3 separate regions of the Homo sapiens genome follow, and regions 1 and 3 are each linked to region 2. Evidence: promoter capture Hi-C in 16 types of primary human blood cells and fetal thymus (Javierre and others, 2016). All regions are on one chromosome and are shown on one strand. Each heading gives the region's core, a stretch centred on a gene start or on the middle of the fragment in contact. The rest is flanking DNA. Distances are from core to core; before and after follow the strand shown.

The links. The method cuts DNA at HindIII sites, captures the fragments that hold promoters and counts their contacts. A CHiCAGO score of 5 or more calls a contact.
Region 1: a fragment that was not itself captured here is called in contact with the fragment with the promoter of MIR155HG in region 2 in 1 of 17 cell types (activated CD4 T cells); the score reaches 5.5 in activated CD4 T cells.
Region 3: a fragment that was not itself captured here is called in contact with the fragment with the promoter of MIR155HG in region 2 in 1 of 17 cell types (non-activated CD4 T cells); the score reaches 8.5 in non-activated CD4 T cells.

The regions. Positions count from the first base shown.
Region 1 is chr21:29,294,977-29,299,137 of GRCh38, forward strand. LOC105369299 (a long non-coding RNA gene) reads right to left here and starts at 3,760. Exons shown (of 2, transcript XR_937652.3): 1 at 1,630-3,760; 2 at 1,202-1,366. BACH1 (BTB domain and CNC homolog 1) reads left to right here and starts at 3,946. Exons shown (of 5, transcript NM_001186.4): 1 at 3,946-3,977. RefSeq lists a silencer at 3,471-4,161. The HindIII fragment of the contact is 468 bases long and covers 1,753-2,220 here.
Region 2 is chr21:25,560,684-25,564,707 of GRCh38, forward strand. It overlaps MIR155HG (MIR155 host gene), which reads left to right and starts at 1,462. Exons shown (of 3, transcript NR_001458.3): 1 at 1,462-1,574. RefSeq lists an enhancer at 997-1,046 and silencers at 1,427-1,516, 1,527-1,806. The HindIII fragment of the contact is 13,141 bases long and covers 1-4,024 here.
Region 3 is chr21:29,068,136-29,072,614 of GRCh38, forward strand. It overlaps CCT8 (chaperonin containing TCP1 subunit 8), which reads right to left. Exons shown (of 15, transcript NM_006585.4): 2 at 2,112-2,202; 3 at 1,288-1,367. Among named protein-coding and RNA genes, the nearest start is that of CCT8, 3.3 kb to the right of the region's middle. The HindIII fragment of the contact is 1,679 bases long and covers 2,158-3,836 here.

The DNA of each region.
Region 1 (4,161 bases), core at 737-3,236, 3.7 Mb after region 2:
TCACCAAACCTGCTCACAGCAGGAAAACTAGCCATCACTTCTCACAGTCAATGAGAAGTATAAATCAAGGACATAGCAGTAAGCTGTGATACCCAAGCTTCACGGATAAATTCTCCTAAAGAATAATGCACTAAAAACAAAACTACATGACAAAAAAAAGCACTAATTGCAAATCACTGTGAAACAGTAGCACAAAATCTTTATATTGTGCTACTAGTGACAGCAACAGAAGACAGTCAAACGCCTAGGCAGATAGAGGCAGGTCCCCGGTGAAACCCCACCTCCAAGCTGAAGACAGTTTAAAGCCTGAAAGCCAAACTACAAGTTAAATTTTCAGACTAGATTGAGAACTTGTCTTCCTGTTTGGCACGCTTTCCTCTGATCTCCACCCTTCACCTATTTTACGTATACTTACCCTTTCTAATTGGTTTTCTACACTGTCGTGCCTGCCTTTGAGTGGTGTCTTTGCTTTAACCTTTTTTTGCAAACTCACAAACCAATCAGCATGCACTCCCCATTCTGAGTGCATAAAAGCCCCAGGCTCAGCCACATGAGAGGGGATTTTCCCACTTTCGGGTAGGGGAACTGCTCCCAGCATTCGCTCTTTGCTGAGAGCTTTCCTTTTGCTTAATCAATTCCACTCCACTCACTTTCCGGTGTCTGTGTGCCTAGTTTTTCCTGGTTGTGAGACAAGAACTTGGACCTAGCTGAGCTAAGGAGCAGAAAGACTGCCAAGACTAGGCTACTTGTCCCAGTTTCAAACTATTATCAATACTAATTGAAAGCAATCAGCTGGGAGCGGTGGCTCATGCCTGTAGTCCCAGCACTCTGGGAGGCCAAGGCAGGTGGATCATTTGAGGTCAGGAGTTTGAGATCAGCCTGGCCAACATGGTGAAACCTTGTCTCTACTAAAAATACAAAAATTAGCTGGGCTTGGTGGTGGGTGCCTGAAATTCCAGCTACTCAGGAGGCTGGGGCAGGAGAATCACTTGAACCCGGGAGGCAGAGGTTGCAGTGAGACAAAATCATGCCACTGCACTCCAAGCCTGCGTGACAGAGAGAGACACCATCTCAAAAAAAAAAAAAAAAAAAGCGATCAGAATTTTTTTTCTTGGTCCCCAAATCTCAACATTTTTTTTTCCCAATAGGAATTAGGTAGAAGCACTATGTCTCATTATAACCTCAAGATAATTTTTAAAAATCTGTTTTAGTAATAGATTTTAATAAACATATGAGTTAGTATAAAAGATCTTGAGGCTGATGTTCTTCAAAGTTGACCATGATGTAGCCACTTTTCTTGATTCCGAGTATTGCAGGATTACTCAAGGTTTTGTTGGCCTGGCAGCTAATAATGTTAATGCTAACTCTGGAAGTCCAGAAGACATAGGTCAGAACATACAGTTGTTTGTGAATATTTACACTGACATACAGGTTTTAAAAGAAATACATTCTAAGTGGTTTTGGTTCAAAGCAAGAGAATACTGAAAACAAAAAGTGCCACATCTTTCACTGAGCATTTTACTGCATTCATTCCTTCATTCAACCTACTATCTGTTTCCACTCCCATTCCTTCTCAATACTAGAATTAGCTTTTAAAAATAACCACATGACTTAGAAACCTCTACTCACTTATTGCAGACCACGGGATGAAGTCCAAACTCCAGGTGCTGTGCATGAGGCCCTTCTCATACTGACTCGGTTTCATTTCATTCTCCAGTTTCATTTTTCGTCCTGTCCCTACTACATGCCATAAGCTTGAAGACCACATGCTTCAGTATTAAAAATGCAGACCCTTAGGTCCTACTCAGATCTACAAAATTAGCATCTTTTGGGGGTGGGACCCAGGAATCTGCATTTTTTTTTTTTTTTTTTTTTTTGAGATAGAGTTTTGCTCTGTCGCCAGGCTGGAGTGCAGTGGCGCGATCTCAGCTCACTGCAACCTCCACCGCCCAGGTTCAAGCGATTCCCCTGTGTCAGCCTCCTGAGCGGCTGGGACTACAGGCGCACACCATCATGCCTGGCTAATTTTTTGTATTTTAGTAGAAACGGGGTTTCACCATGTTGGGGTTTAGTAGAAACGGGGTTTCACCATGTCGATCTCCTGACCTCGTGATCCGCCCGCCTTGGCCTTTGAAAGTGCTGGGATTACAGGCATGAGCCACTGCTCCCGGCCGGAATCTGCATTTTAACAAGCAAACCAAATATTCTTCCCCATAATGAAGCTTGAGAGTCACTCACTTGACTTGATACTCTTAGCACATCTGTATACCTTTGTGAGAACTTCTCAAATAATTAAACCTATCAGGGCATACATCATAATTTTCAGGCTAGAAAATGTCACTGCTATTATCTAAAGAAGCAAGAGTTCCTCCCAAAGAGGAGGGTCTGATCTTCCCCTAGAAAAAACTGCACAGGTGTAGAAAAAACTGCATAGGTGTAGAAAAAAGACACTGCAATTCCACTGGCTCAAGGTGGAAGGAGAATAAAGCCTCGGACACTCCCATGTGTCTGCAAGAACTTCAATCCTTCTTTCATGGTGTATTTCCAAGTGTCCTTTCCTCCTGTTTCACTAAATATCTGCACTCTCACCATGAACTGAGGCAGCCTGGGATGCGAGGTACCTCCTACCTCTGGACCCTATCTAGACTGCTGGGTTCCACTCTTCCCAATCAAGACCCAATGCAAATGTCACCTGCTCCAGGAAGCCTCCCCTAATTCTAGGTCATAATGTATCACTTCACCCCTCGCACTCTCATCCAATTTCACTTGTGTGATTTTCTCATGTATTTTGGATGTAGCTCAAACGTCCCCAAGTCCCACAGCCTGTGGGTGCAAATGCAGTCATGTTAGTCGTAATACCTGAATTATTATCTTGGTATCCTTTTTGCCCCGGGAACTCCAGGGCTGTGTTCTTGTTGCTGGCTCCAAAGCTAACAATAAAATCCCTTCACACAAATCGTCCTTTGGCTTCAGACCTCAAGGTCCGTGTCATCTCCGCAGGAACCCTCGTGGGGTTGGCGTGCCCAGTCCCCTCCGCTGCGCGTGCATCCCGCTCCGCTGACAGCCAGTGCTTTGGTTCTCCAGAGGTGTTAAATGGCTTGGGAACATAATTTCAAAACGGACAGTTGGATAAACACCAGAATAAGCACCAGAAGATGACAGCGGAACCAAGGCTCGAGATGGGCCGGCTGACACCACTGGGCGCTGAACCTGGCTGGAAGCTTCCTGGCAGCGACAGCGAAAAGGGAACACCTGTCGTGGGCGCCCTTGTTTCACTGTCAGTAAGAAGTAGAGCAACTGCTAGACGCGCTCCACAAAACCCTGGACGCACTTCATACACACCCCCACCCCAGCAAGCTCAAGTACCCTGTGAACCTGGACGCCCACCACCCCCAGGGCAGGCAGCGAGGAGCTCTTCAAGGGGTAAAGCGACCCCTGTGGGGCCAGCGCCCGTCCTCTCTCCTGCTGTTCGCGGGCACCCGGGCACGCGGCGACTCGGCTGAATTAGGGCGTCCTGCAGCTCCCGAGGCGAGGAGGCGCTTGGCCTTTCCGTTCCGCCCTCAGAAGGGAGAGGAGAGGTGGTCCTCGAGTGGGAGTCAGTTCAGGATGCGGGCTGTGCCACGCGCGGAGGTCCGGGGACCCCACCGCCGCCTCCTCGAGGCCCGCCCCGCCCCTTACGACCCGTCCCTGCAACCCCCCGCGTGGGCTTCCGGCCGCGGCGACCCCTGCCCCGCGCTATTGCGCGCGCTCGTTCGCTGACAGAGGCTTCGAGGGCGGCAGGGCGGGGCTTCGGCGCCGGGGGCGGGGCCTTCAGCGGGCGGGCGGGGTTTTGGCGCCGCGAGGTGGCGGCAGCAGAGCGGCGCAGAAGGGAGGGGGCGGCTGGCCGCGCGGAAGGAGTGAGTCACCTGACCGCTGCCCTCGCCGCCCGCCGGGCGCTCTCGCTTCAGTCAGTCGGGCCGCGCCGCGCCTCAGCTCTGGTGAGTGGCTCGGCCGTCCCGCCGGCCCTTCTCCGGGAGGGTTGGCGCGGTCAGGGCCGCGGGCCTGTGAGGGGAGGCCGGCGGACAGGTCCAGTGAAGGCGCGGGCGGGCCGGGGGCGGCTCTTTCTGGGCTGGGCGGGGCGCGGGGGGCACGTATCGGGGCCCGCGGGGGGCGCCGGCGGCC
Region 2 (4,024 bases), core at 212-2,711:
TCTAAGGTAACATGTTTAATCTCTCTGTGCTCAGTTTCCTCATCTGGAAATAGAGATTATAATGCTCCTCCCTCATATGATCATAGTGAGGACTGAAAGAGTTAATGCATATAAGGAGTGTTAGGACAGGATCTGGCACATGGTAAATGCTTTATAAGTGTTAGTTGTTATCATCATGATTATTCTTGTTTGAATTATAAGAGAAAAAGCATGTATCTTAAGAATAGAGGGTTTTAAAATGCTCCCAAGTTCCTTAACCAACCTGAGCCATCTGTAAATTAAGTACTATGGGATTTCCAGCTCTGACATGTATTCTGACATGTAACTGGCATCAGTTTAATACAAACTATTCTAAAATGTCTTGTGCCCTTGACAGGGAGGTCCAAGTACTGGATACTTGCAATGCAATCCAGCAGTGGCCCCGTCTTTCTTACAAAAAGGCCCCAGTCACATGTTGATGAGGCTAGATCTATTCCTGTCCTCCTTCTCTTCCCCATATTTCCTTATTCTTCTTCAAGTCTAAACGTTTATTGAACTGAGACCCATGAATGAGTTACTCGACTAGGCTTGTAGGATAAACTTGCCAGGCTTTAGATCTATTTGTTCCTTTCCATCCCCCAAAATCAAATGGCTGCTCCAGGAAAATGTTCCCCTTGTGGCAGGGTCCGGGAGAAAAGAGAGAAGCGACAAAACCAAAAATTAAAACGACCGAAGTCCCATATGCTCCAGGAATATGTCCTGGAGATGGGAGTGGAGGGCAGGGGGAGAATGTTGTTGAGGTCAAAATTTTTGAAGTTTTAAGTCCTATATCTTGACATCCCGAGTATAAATGCGGGTACCAGACACAGTACAAACGTTCTCAAAGCCCAGTTACGTATTCCAAACCAAACGCGGGCTCTTGAAGGGTGATGAGGTAGGGATGAAATCCAGGATCGCCTGAAGACCATTTCTTCCTCTCTTAGGGACCTGCTGGTCTCCAGCTGATTCGGTCCAGGAGGAAAAACCTCCCACTTGCTCCTCTCGGGCTCCCTGCAAGGAGAGAGTAGAGACACTCCTGCCACCCAGTTGCAAGAAGTCGCCACTTCCCCCTCCAGCCGACTGAAAGTTCGGGCGACGTCTGGGCCGTCATTTGAAGGCGTTTCCTTTTCTTTAAGAACAAAGGTTGGAGCCCAAGCCTTGCGGCGCGGTGCAGGAAAGTACACGGCGTGTGTTGAGAGAAAAAAAATACACACACGCAATGACCCACGAGAAAGGGAAAGGGGAAAACACCAACTACCCGGGCGCTGGGCTTTTTCGACTTTTCCTTTAAAAAGAAAAAAGTTTTTCAAGCTGTAGGTTCCAAGAACAGGCAGGAGGGGGGAGAAGGGGGGGGGGGTTGCAGAAAAGGCGCCTGGTCGGTTATGAGTCACAAGTGAGTTATAAAAGGGTCGCACGTTCGCAGGCGCGGGCTTCCTGTGCGCGGCCGAGCCCGGGCCCAGCGCCGCCTGCAGCCTCGGGAAGGGAGCGGATAGCGGAGCCCCGAGCCGCCCGCAGAGCAAGCGCGGGGAACCAAGGAGACGCTCCTGGCACTGCAGGTACGCCGACTTCAGTCTCGCGCTCCCGCCCGCCTTTCCTCTCTTGAACGTGGCAGGGACGCCGGGGGACTTCGGTGCGAGGGTCACCGCCGGGTTAACTGGCGAGGCAAGGCGGGGGCAGCGCGCACGTGGCCGTGGAGCCCGGCCTGGTCCCGCGCGCGCCTGCGGGTGCCCCCTGGGGACTCAGTGGTGTCGCCTCGCCCGGGACCAGAGATTGCGCTGGATGGATTCCCGCGGGCAGAGGCAGGGGGAAGGAGGGGTGTTCGAAACCTAATACTTGAGCTTCTTTGCAAAGTTTCCTTGGATGGTTGGGGACGTACCTGTATAATGGCCCTGGACCAGCTTCCCTGTTGGAGTGGCCAGAGAAGTGTGTAAAACACACTAGAGGGGCAGGGTGGAAAAAGAGACTGCCTTCAAAACTTGTATCTTTTCGATTTCATTTTGAAAAATAACTACAAATCTATTTTAATTTTACAAAGTTAGACTCATAGCATTTTAGATATCAATGTCTTCATTTAACAGAAGTGAAGATGGAGCAAACGCTCAATCAGCGTCTGTATTTATTCGCTCCTGTTGTGCCAGGGTGCGTTTTTGCCGAGCGGTTGCCTTTCTTTACTCACAAAACCCCCTTGATGTCTGTCCTCCACGTTTTACGAGGGAGAGCCGGATCTTTTGAAGTTTGTATCATCTAAAGCAGGTATATTGGGATGACTATGGATAGAATTTAACCTGAAAACACTGAAGTTGACAGCTGACAAAGATATAAGAATCCAAAGTATGTTAAAAATTAAGGAGCTGAGGCCCACAGAAGTGAAGTTACTTTTCCAGCATCACACAGCAGATCTAGGACCCTGTGTGATTTGAAAAGGCCAAGGTATCTAATGATGCTCATAATTTAGTTTACATTTTGTGTCAAATAGATGAGGTCAAGTGGACATTATGTGTATATTCCAAAGCCAAAATTACTGCTTGTAATATCCATTCATCTCTCCGAAGACGTAGTGCCTCTTTTATATGGCTTTAACCTAATGTATAATCGAAGTGAATTAGGGCAGCCAGACTTTTAATCACAGGACTGATCTTTTAAAAACGGGTATATGTAAAGTTAATTGCTTATCTATGTGAACAGTAATATACACTATAAAAAGTTTTCAAGGCAACTTCCTGCCTGTGGTTTAATTTGATAGTCACAATGATAGGAAATTGGCAGGGTTAGGTGGTGGTATCTACATTTTGCCCATGAGGACTTGTGGCTCAGAGAATTTGAGTTTTTTCTAGTAAGGTCACTAGGTCCCTAGTGCACAGCCTGCTTTTAGGTACGGATGTGGGATGGGGGTGTCGGCAGACCACAGGGTTTTGACTCTCAGTTTGGGCTCATTTCCATGACTCCTTGCTGCCTCCCTGATTTCTGTCAAATGACCAAAGCACATTTAGTAATTACTTCTGCTGCAAGGACTACTCCTTATTAGGCTGTGATAAGTAAGTTTCCTCACATAGTGGGTCAGCTCACTCTGGCCACAGGACCCAGCTTCCTAACCACACACATTAAGAAAGAGAAAAATTAGCACTGTCTGAGACCTACAACCACTTCAAGGGAGAACAGTGGTGTTTGCACAAATGTCTACTTTTGTTTTAACCTAGTCATGTGTAAAAAGTGTAATTCACTGGTCTTTACCAAAAAAAAAAAAAAAAAAACAACAACAAAAAAAAAACAGGCATCATAGTCTGCCTGTGCTGGACGCTATGCTAGACACTGGAGAGACAAAGGTGAGCAGGATAGGCACAACCCTACCCTTACAAACCCAGAAAGTTAGAGGAAAGGCCATCAGGACATTGCTGTGCAATTTGATATCATTTCAATTTTGGTAACATAGATATTTGAACTAATTAGAATGTGCTACAAATTTTGCCATTCTTTACTTTCCATATGCCAACATGGAAAATTTGTAACCCTCATCTTTAAATACCTCATCTTACCAGTCCTCTATAAATCAAAAAATCTACCCCAAAAAGCCCTAGGTTTTAACTTTTGAAAAGTTTTTTTTTATCAGCTTTTCAGGTCATGACTAAGATCTGCCATTCAATTTAAAGGAATTCTTTCATTTTAGAGTAATAGTTACTAAAATCCTTTATTCCTACCTCCTTGAGAATCTAATGGAAATTTTATATGCTCTTCCCAGAAAATTTTTGTTAATGTGTATCCTCACACACCAATTTGCATTCGATGTTAGCAGGCTAGAGACTTCCTTGAATCTCAGCCATGACCCTCTTCGGGGGTCCACTTTCATAATCAGTATTCTAAACCTAGTAGGCATAAATAGCTTGAATAGAGGAAAGTGGTATGTAGACTCTTGCCCTTCACTTGGACTGGGCACCTCTATCACTTGGACTGGGCACCAGCTAGTGCCCTTAACTAGCTGGTGTCTCCATTTTTGATAGTCATTGGCTAT
Region 3 (4,479 bases), core at 1,747-4,246, 3.5 Mb after region 2:
ATTTGTGATTTAAAGAAAAGGGGGAGTATAAAACTTTTCTTCAAATATAACATAATTTTATGTGGATTTTATTCTTAGGATTTAATTTTAGATACCTTTACAGAAACAAGCCAAGGAGTAAGAACTGAGAGCAACAAGAAAACTATAAAAAGTCAGCCCTGTGATTTTATTATTTTGACGGTATCACCACTGTACTTTAATAACTCCTGAGATCATCAGTGTGCAACATTAACATTCACAGTGACAAACCCTTGTACAAGTGTTTTGTGGAGTTAAAATTTAACTTTTAACTTAAGTTCTTTAAGAATTTATATATATAATATGTATTTTTTTTTCTTTTTTGAGATGGAGTCTTGCTCTGTCGCCCAGGCTGGAGTGCAGTGGCGCGATCTTGGCTCATTGCAACCTCCGCCTCCCAGGTTCAAGCAATTCTCCTGCCCTAGCCTACTGAGTAGCTGGAACTACAGGTGTGTGCCACCACGCCCGGCTGATTTTGTTTCTGTATTTTTAGTAGAGATGGGGTTTCACCATGTTGGCCAGGCTAGTCTCAAACTCCTGACCTTAGGTGATCCGCCTGCCTTGACCTCCCAAAGTGGTGGGATTACAGGCGTGAGCCACCGCGTCCAACCAAAAATATATTATTTAAGAGGTTAGAAAAATGTTGATTCTTCTATCGTTTCATTTAAAACAAAAGATTAAGTTCTAGTGCTTTCAAGGGCTAAGCTTCAGGAAAATTCCCTGAGGTTGAATATGTTATCCTTTAATTACAAGGCGGGAATGAGGAATGGCTCTCTCTGCCTGTTCAGGTGCCAGACCTTCCTTATAACCCTGCTGGCAGGCAGTATCTATTTTATAGATTCTAATAGTAAAACTAAAGCTGAACAAAGTAAAATGCCATCAACTGATTGTTTTTATTTTCACAAAACCAAATGGTTGGATCTTTTTAAAAACCACTGTTATATGTATACGTTTTTGCACTGTGGAATAATTCACTTCAGAGTCACCCTATAGAATGAAGACAATGGTAATCAATTTCATATCGTAATTAGCAATGTATCACAACCAATCCCTCCATAAATTAATAACTTGAGAGATTTTTAAGATTTCAGTGGCTAAAACATTCAATCTAAAGAGGACTCTTTATAATTAGAACAATCTGTACAATAAATTTTCAAGCTGGAAAAATAGTCCCTTATCCAATCTGAAATAAGAGATTTCTTCTAGTTAAAATCTACTTAATTTTGATGTCACCAAAATATTTCTTGACTTTTTAAAGAAACAACTTACTTCTAGTTCTCTTAAAATAGTTGCTGCATCGTTTGTCACAAACAACTTCTCCAAGTGGTTGATAACCATTTTGTTCATTCCTCAAAAGTAACAGTTAAAAAAAGAAAAAGAAAGCCATTATTAATCAAATCCTTCCCCAAATACCCAGGAAAATCTAGTTAAGAAATTATAAATTTGTATATTAAAAAAAGAGCTTTGCAAGAAAACACATACTATCTATTCTTCAAGTTTATCTTATAGCCCCATGGGCATTCTCTGACTGCAGACCCATATTCTTTCTTCCCTTTCTAATGTCCTACAATATTTACTACGTAAGATGCCAAATCTCACATTTTTGCCAATTTCTATCTTCTGTTTGCAACATGACTGTCATGCAGCAAGTGCTCAACAGAAATTAACATGTAAAAAGGCCAAAATAATCTACTTAGTATATTTAGTTGTATGTTTATTCCATGAAACTGTATCATTTAAATTTAATTGGTGGTAGAAGGCAAGAGGAAGGAGAGAATTTTCTTCCTTAAACTATGTCACTTTTATATTTAGTGTTTGTCAGAATGAACATTAGGTACTATCTTACTAGTCAAAGTGTTATAATTTTTCTATCCTCTCAACAGGATAAAAAGTAATATATTGACCCCCATTTTTCTAAAGAGATGTGAGTTGATTGAAAATTAGAAATAACTAAAAATTGGAAATGAACTATCATTGAGCTATCAAATTAACTTCCGAAGTCATACCATAACATCCTCAGAACAAGTCTGAAAGAAGACGTAGTACACAATATTCTACTACTGTATCTTTACAAATATTAATTTAGAAATTACCATTTGGTCCATATGCTGTACGAGTGGTTTGGGCAAGCTCCTTGCAAGCTTGTATGTTTCTATACACAGCCTCTTCTAATCCTGAAAAGTGCTGTTAAAAAAAACAAACAAAAAACCCCGCTAATTAGACAGGACAGTGAAACAAAAATTTCAAATACAAGATATCTTTGCTTATATCTTGCCTCTAATAAAGAGGGAGCATAGCTTAGGTATTTGGCACAAGAGGGCTGGTTGCAAATCTTAGCTTTCTGGCTCTTTTTAAATTTGGGCAATTTTCTTAACATTTCTTCATTATAAAATGAAGTAATTATAATAGTACCTAACTCATAGGATTGTTGAGACAATCAAACAAGATTTTTTAATGTAAAACACAGCATTTGATATTCATAAATGATGCATACATTTCCTCTCTAGTTGAATGAATAAAGTATAACATTTTGGGGGACCGCAGGTACCTACTTACACATCAAAAGACTTAAAATTTTTTTTATTAAAAGTAGTGAAAAGTACAGGGAACCATGCTAAGACTAATTAGAGAAAGGGTATGAGGTACTTCAAGTAGAATACCTTTCCAGAATTTATCAGTATTTTCTAACTAACTGTTGAAATGTGGAATATTCTTATTGTGTTAGAATCTGGGCTTTTGTAAAGCCAGAAGTTCTTTAAGTATGTGCCACTGAAGTGTTTAGAGACTGAATACTTTTTTTGAATTGCAACATTATCCCAATGTATATGTATTGAAAAGCGAACTGCTCACGGTACTAAAAATTCTCACAAATTCTACACTGGACTTTTTTAGAGTTGAGGTTTACTTGGGTCCTCAGATATATTTCACTAATCTACTGTGCATGAGAACATTTCTTTAGAGAAGCGCTGCCCAATACAGTAGCCACTAGCTACATACATGGGGCTAGTGAAAGCAATCAAAATAAACTTTCAAGTAATTAAAATTAAAAAATTCAGTTCCTCAATTGCAGGAGCCACAGTTCAAATGCCCAGTAGCTACATGTGGGTAGTGAATATCACACTGGACAGCGCTGATACAGCGTATGTCCAGCACTGCAAAAAGTTCTATTTACATAGTACTGCTTTACAATACAAGCCATGATTTTGTGATCCAAAACCAAGGTTAATAGCCATTACTCTTTTTTGAGAGAGAGAGAGTCTCCTCTATCGCTCAGGCTGGAGTGCAGTGAGCTGAGATCGTGGCACGATCTCAGCTCACTGCAACCTGGGCCTCCCGGGTTCAAGCAATTCTGGAGGCTCAGCCTCCTGAGTAGCTGGGATTAGAGGTGCGCGCCACACCAGGTTGGTTTTTTTTGTATTTTTTTGAGAGGCGGAGTTTCACCATGTTGGCCAGGAACTCCTGGCCTCAAGTGATCCACTGACCTCGGCCTCCCCAGTGTTGGGATTACAGGTGTGAGCCACCAACCCCTGCCAATAGCCACTGCTTTAAAAGCATCTTCAGCAATAAGAACTGTTATTCCAGCAATAACACTTAAGTCTGAACTCCTGGCTTACACTCTTGCTTCTTCCCCTCACTCCCCATTCTGTGAGAAACTACCATTTGATCAGATCCCCTCATTCCCATACTTAAGACCCTTCAATGGTTTCCCAACCAGCTTAGGATAAAATGCAAATCCCTTTTCAAGGAAACAAGGCCCTACGTATCCCGGCCCTTGTATGGCTCCTCCTCTGAACTTACCATTCTTCCTTTCTTTGGTAAGCTTCAGCCCTACAACCTGTTGTTGTTGTTGTTGTTTTAAAAAAAAAACAGGTCAAAATCATTCCTTCCTCAGGGTCTTTGTACTAGTTAGTCCCTGAGCCTGGCATTTCCCCCTAAGTAAGAGGTCGGGGGAAACAGCCCAGGCTCAGGGGCTTCTCTCACTAAGCACTGAGCTAAGAGTTCTTCCCTAAACGTCTAAGTGTTCTGTCTATTCCTGATCCTTCTTTTACAGACATTTTTACCTCCTGTCATCCTCTACTATAGTGCAGTTTCTTTCATCATTATTTGGAATTCTCCTTTTATTTAATCATTATTTCTGCCTTAGAAGGACATAAACTCTACGACAAATGGGACTTTTGTCTTTCACTGCAGTTCCTTCAGTACCTATTTATTGAAAGAAATAGCTCAGTGTTCTGTAAAAAACTACTAGCACTGGAATGACAAATAATGTTTTGTGATACACGAGTTTTCCAAAACTGTATTAGTGAAAAAAACCCAAATTGGAAGCTATTATCTCAGCCTGATTTTTTCAAGGGAATCAGCCCATATCATTTTCAAAAGATTATTCCACCAACATTTACCTTGAACCCTGACATTTACTTACTATACCGACATTATTTGAAAAGTGCATCCTACAAACAT